Linked DNA regions of Homo sapiens: region 1 is linked to region 2. The links are contacts of gene promoters, found by promoter capture Hi-C in human tissues and cell types (Jung and others, 2019). All regions are on one chromosome and are shown on one strand. The core of a region is centred on a gene start or on the middle of the fragment in contact, and the rest is flanking DNA. Distances in the headings are between cores, read along the strand shown.

What was found. The method cuts DNA at HindIII sites, captures the fragments that hold promoters and counts their contacts. A contact is called where the count stands out against the background at its distance.
Region 1: a contact is called between a fragment that was not itself captured here and the fragment with the promoter of NOTCH1 in region 2, in 1 of the 25 tissues and cell types used here (lymphoblastoid cells).

The regions. Positions count from the first base shown.
Region 1 is chr9:136,939,480-136,942,432 of GRCh38, reverse strand. It overlaps FBXW5 (F-box and WD repeat domain containing 5), which reads left to right. Exons shown (of 9, transcript NM_018998.4): 6 at 1-387; 7 at 749-896; 8 at 970-1,182; 9 at 1,262-1,998. The coding sequence ends at 1,505. Among named protein-coding and RNA genes, the nearest start is that of FBXW5, 3.8 kb to the left of the region's middle. The HindIII fragment of the contact is 5,626 bases long and covers 1-2,953 here.
Region 2 is chr9:136,544,658-136,547,541 of GRCh38, reverse strand. It overlaps NOTCH1 (notch receptor 1), which reads left to right and starts at 1,494. Exons shown (of 34, transcript NM_017617.5): 1 at 1,494-1,816. The coding sequence starts at 1,756. MIR4674 (microRNA 4674) reads left to right here and starts at 1,283; the gene lies at 1,283-1,369. RefSeq lists enhancers at 1-637, 2,610-2,659 and silencers at 830-929, 1,270-1,829, 1,850-2,109, 2,330-2,379. The HindIII fragment of the contact is 7,823 bases long and covers 1-2,884 here.

The DNA.
Region 1 (2,953 bases), core at 382-2,881, 390 kb before region 2:
GGCTGTTCAAGATCCAGAACCTCAATGCCAGCACCGTCCGCACGGTGATGGTGGCCGACTGCAGCCGCTTCGACAGCCCTGACCTGCTGCTGGAAGCCGGTGACCCGGCCACGTCCCCCTGCCGCATCTTTGACCTGGGCAGCGACAACGAGGAGGTGGTGGCTGGCCCGGCCCCCGCCCACGCCAAGGAGGGCTTGCGGCACTTTCTGGACCGCGTGCTGGAGGGGCGGGCGCAGCCACAGCTGTCGGAGCGCATGCTAGAGACCAAGGTGGCCGAGCTGCTGGCCCAGGGCCACACCAAGCCACCCGAGCGCAGTGCCACAGGCGCCAAGAGCAAGTACCTCATCTTCACCACTGGCTGCCTCACCTACTCCCCACACCAGATCGGTACACCCCTGCCGCCATGCTGCCCGCCTCGGTCCTAGGAGCTTGGGGGAGGCCGGGCAGGGGTCCTGAGGGGCAGACAGCAAGCAAGTCCACAGGCAAAGCTGGGATCGTTCACTCGCCCCTGGGGTCACAAGCCCAGACCTGGGGCCTGTGGGATGAGCAGTGAAAACAAACGCAGGCAGGGCCGCTGGCCAGCAAGCAACCGACGGGCCTGATTCAGGTCTGGGGCCCCCGGAGCAGGCAGTGCCCACGGACCTCTGTGGTGCTCACAGCCCCAGAGACACCACTGAGGTAGGAAGCTGCCCTGGAGTGATGTCCTTGGGGCATTGGACAGGGACCCTCACCGTAGCCCTCCCTGCAGGCATCAAGCAGATCCTGCCACACCAGATGACCACGGCAGGGCCCGTGCTGGGTGAGGGCCGGGGCTCCGATGCCTTCTTCGACGCGCTGGACCACGTCATAGACATACACGGACACATCATCGGCATGGGCCTGTCGCCCGACAACAGGTGGGCCTCTTGCCAGTGTCCCAGGCGGGGTGCCCGCAGGCGGCCCACACCTAGCACAGTGCCCCTCGCCCAGGTACCTGTACGTGAACAGCCGCGCCTGGCCCAACGGTGCGGTGGTGGCCGACCCCATGCAGCCGCCACCAATCGCGGAGGAGATTGACCTGCTGGTGTTCGACCTCAAGACCATGCGGGAGGTGAGGCGGGCTCTGCGTGCGCACCGCGCCTACACGCCCAACGACGAGTGCTTCTTCATCTTCCTGGACGTCAGCAGGGACTTCGTGGCCAGGTGCAGGGCGCGGCGTGGTGCAGGGCGGGTGTGGGCAGCAGCGGGCGGGCGGCCGGCTCACCCAGGCGCTGTTCTGCAGCGGGGCGGAGGACCGGCACGGCTACATCTGGGACCGCCACTACAACATCTGTCTGGCCAGGCTGCGGCACGAGGATGTGGTCAACTCAGTGGTCTTCAGTCCCCAGGAGCAGGAGCTGCTGCTCACGGCCAGCGACGACGCCACCATCAAAGCCTGGCGCTCCCCACGCACCATGCGCGTCCTCCAGGCACCTCGCCCACGGCCTCGCACCTTCTTCTCCTGGCTTGCCAGCCAGAGGCGCTGAGGTGTGCTGGGTGCACTGGAGCCACCGGGACCCCTTGAGGACATCGCCAGGCTCTGTGGCTTTTTCCCGAGCGGGAGAGGTGGAGATGCTTATAGCAGTTACGCCTTAGGAAGGGGACAACCAGGCCCCGCCACACGCTCACACACAAACCTGCTCACGCAGCTGTGATGCTTGGCACGGGGTGGCCAGTGCAGATGGAGCCCAAGGCCCCCTCGGCCTCCTGGGCAACTTGGGGTACACAGGATACTGGGGGTGCCGCTCCTCACTCAACCCCAGGCTAGGGGTACACCTGACCCAGCTGGCCTCGGCCCGGGGCACCTTCGGCTGGTCCTGTGGGGCCCTGGACGGTGGCCCAGTGGTGGCAGGGGCTGCTCCTGGCTGTGGTTGTGCGCCCGGGGCTTGGGAGCGGCCGGTCACGCTGCTGTGGGCCCGAGTGTGTTGCATGTCCACGCACCACCCGTTCAGGGCCCTGAATAAACAGTTGGCAACAGCACATTGTTGTCCAGTCTCTGTCTGCAGGGAGGGAGACTGTGGGCACTGCTGGCACAGTGGAGTGGACCTCATGGTCACTGCTGACGGGTGACGCTGTTATTGCTGGCACAGTGGTCCTACTGGAGTGAATGTTGCAGTCACTGCTGACAGGTGACATGTGCGTCTGAGGTCATGTGCTGGTGCCAGACTTTGTCACACTGCCCTGTCCTCCATGACCTCCAGGGAGATGCCTGGCACATGTGCCGGGGCTGGCAGCATGCAGGGCCTGCCGTCTGGGTCCAGGGTCAGTAGGCCACGTCACTCCCAGTGCCAGGGCAGCCCCCCCAGTCAGTCCCGTCCTTGAGGGAGTTCCTCAGCTGCTGGGTCCAGAGTCGGCAGGCTGCGTCGCTCCCAGTGCCAGGGCAGCCCCCACAGTCAGTCCCATCCTTAAGGGAGTTCCTCGGCTGCTGGGTCCAGAGTTGGCAGGCTGCGTCACTCCCAGTGCCAGGGCGGCCCCCCACAGTCCCGTCCTTGAGGGAGTCCCTCGGCTGCTGGGTCCAGAGTCGGCAGGCCGTGTCGCTCCCAGTGCCAGGGCGGTCTCCACAGTCAGTTCAGGCCGGCGAGGATGGGACCAGGGGCCCAGAAGTGGGAGCAGAGGTGGAGCTCCAGCTGGACCCCACAGGCTTTGTTGGAACTGCACCGGGAGCTCGGGGGCCCGGGGCGATGGTGGTGACAAGGAAGATGGCAGGAGTAGAGCCTGGCACTCGGGTCAGCTGCCCATTATAGGAAGCACACAGAGCTTGTGGCTCCAAACATGGCAGCAAGCAACCCCGTACAGAGAAAGGACGCAGAGGAGACGAGTGAGTGTCGAGGTGATGGTTCCCCTGAGCCACGTGGGCCGCAGGTAGAGACCCTGGGGCTGAGCTCGAGCACCGACGGGATCAGGGACAGCACCACCGAGAGAGGCTGCGCCACCC
Region 2 (2,884 bases), core at 245-2,744:
CGTGGTGGGCAGAGTCCTCAGCCTGGGAGCTGCACAGCCCCGCGCTTCCTTCTATGGAAAATCTGCTCCTCCAGGCTGCCTGGCTGCTGTTACATAAACATCTCTGCTGCCTCCAGGCGCCTCCTCTCCTGGGGCGCTGACCCCAAGATGTTACCCCAGGCCTGCAGAAGTGAGGCCAGATTCTGGGAGGACGCAGGCGAGGGAGGCTCCCAGCAGCAGCTACAGGGGCGGGACAGGCCGCCTGCACTGGCTGTTTCCAGAGTGCTCAGCATTTGGCAAGAGGTGTGCCAGGAAAGGCTTGCTGGGGTCAGGTGTGAGATTTGTCCTGCTTTCTGTGCCTGCCTCTGCCACCATGCTCTGGGGTTTCTGCAGCCCTCCCCCCAGGCCCCCACAGTCCTAGGTCCCTCCCAGCCTTTCGGTCTCCCCGCAGGGCAGGCTTAGCCCTCCTACTCCAGGAGGGGCGCCGGGACACGCGCCTTCTGCCATCGCACTCACCACCCTGTGTTGGGGTGGGGAGGGGGCGCTGTCTGTCCCTGGCACGAGGCCGTGAACTTTGCGCAGGGACTATGGCAGGCATTTTGGACTCCTGGCGCTTAACCAGGCTTGGCACAGGGTGCCCGTGCCTGGCATCGTGGTGGAGAAATAAATCAGCCGGAAGGAGCACGTGGGAAGGGCTGCGCCGGCGCCAGCGGCAGATCCGCCCGACCCGTTTGTGCTTTCTGGGGCCACCTTAGGCAGGCGGCGCCCGGGCAGGAGGAGGACGGTGACCGAGGAGCGTGTCGACGCGGGTCCCCCTTGGGGGAGCGGGGCACAATCCGTCCGCGAGGCACTGGTCCCGGCTGCTCCCTCGGGGCGCCCGGAGTCCCCTGCCCAGAGGCCGCGGCGCCCCCATCCCTCGCGGTCAAGTGCTCGGGCAATCACGGCCAGGGATGTCTGGCGGCGATCGATCCTCTGGACGCCTAAAGCCGCGGCCACGGGGCCCTCGGGAGGGAGTGAAGCCGCTGGGCTAGGGGCGCACACACGGCTAGGCCACTCTCCCAGAGCCCTGCCCCGGGCCCGGGGTCCCCCAACGTGGCCTCAGCTGCTCCCCGCCCGGCCCAGCGCACGGTGCACACGGCTGTCCGCGGCCTCGCCCTCCCCATTCCGCCCCGGGCTCCTCCGCTTATTCACATGCAAATTTCAGTCGCCAGTTGTCGCCGAGCGCGGCAACCGCCAGAGCCGGATCCTTCCGCAGCCCCGGCTCAAACTTTTGGCCTCTGAAAACTTTCAAACGAGAAGTAGTCCCAGGCGCCCGCTCCCGACCCACGCCGCGCCGCCGGGTCCCTCCTCCCCGGAGAGGCTGGGCTCGGGACGCGCGGCTCAGCTCGGGGAGGCGCAAAGGCGGACGGGGCGTGCGGGAGGAGGTGGCCGCGGAGGGGGCGGGGGGACCGGCGGGGGTGGGGCCGGGCGGGGCGGGGCCGGCGGGGGCGGAGCGCACCTCGACTCTGAGCCTCACTAGTGCCTCGGCCGCGGGAGGGAGCGCAAGGGCGCGGGGCGCGGGGCGCGGGCGCGGGCGCGAGCGCAGCGAAGGAACGAGCCGGGCGCGGAGCCGGGCCCGGGGGCCTGCGAGAGCACAGCGCCGCCAGCCAGCCGGGGAAGAGAGGGCGGGACCGTCCGCCGCCGCCCCGGGACCGTACGCCGCGCGTGTGCGTCCCAGCCCCGCCGGCCAGCGCAGGAGGCCGCCGCCCGGGCGCAGAGGGCAGCCGGTGGGGAGGCATGCCGCCGCTCCTGGCGCCCCTGCTCTGCCTGGCGCTGCTGCCCGCGCTCGCCGCACGAGGTAGGCGCCCACCCACCCGCGAGCCCCCACTTTCCGCGCCCTTTGGAAACTTTGGCGGCGCCCGGCGCGCGCGCCCCACGGCTGGGAGCGGGCGGCGGGGAGGCCAGCATGGAGAGGGAAAAGCGGGCGGCCCGGGGCGTGGGGTTCTGGAGTCCCGGGATCAGGGAGGACCGACCTTCCCCCTCGATCCCCCCGTGGAGGCGGACTCGCGCCGCCCGTGCCTGGAGCCGAGTTAGGAGGCCGGTGTGGGGTGCTGGGGCCCCGGAGGCCCTACTCCGGGCCCGCCCTTCACCCGCCGCGCGTGGGGCTTGCCGCCGGTCGGCCGGGCGGGCGGGCTGCCTACTATTTTTCGATTTGAATAGAGTCGGTTTTGGTTTCCTGTTGCTTCTCCGGGCCATTTATCTTCTTTCTTCTTCGCCTCTGGCCCACGCCGGGGCGGATGTTGGGGCGCGGAGTGTGGGCTCTGCGGCGCCGCGTTCGCCTTCACTGACCCGCGCGGCCGGGCTGGGTCCCCGGGCTCCCGGTCGCCCCGCCCGCCGGTGCCCCCCAGCCCGGCTCTCAGTTTGGGGGAGGGGTTGCGTAAGAAGCCGCCGCGCCCGGGGGGACTGAACTTTCCTTTTGCTTTGCGGAGTTGAAGTTTGGAAAGCTTGGGGGCGGAGAGCGGGACGCGGGTGGGGGGCTCTTACATTTCTCCCCGCCGCACAGCGAGCGGGGTCTCTGGGGAATCGAGTGATTAATCCACTCTTTCTCCGAGAGTTGGAGGCGAGAATTATCTGTCCTCTTCCAGAAAGTGCGGCTCTGTGTCACACCCCCCTCCCCCGTTTCTCAGCCCCGGTAAGATGGGGAGGGAGGGGCTTGAGTAATTGATCCCTTCTCGAGATGGGGTCGAATTCCTTCCGAATGGGGGACCTTCATCCCCCTCCTGTGGGTGTATGGGGGCTGCCCTGGAGATGCGCGCCCGCGGAGGCAGGTATTGGGTGTCGGCGGAGGCGGGGCCGCGTCCCCAGGGTGCTGTCCCGGTGCCCCTGGAGGCGGCCCCGACTCCACAATGGGCCGCTCTGATTCTGA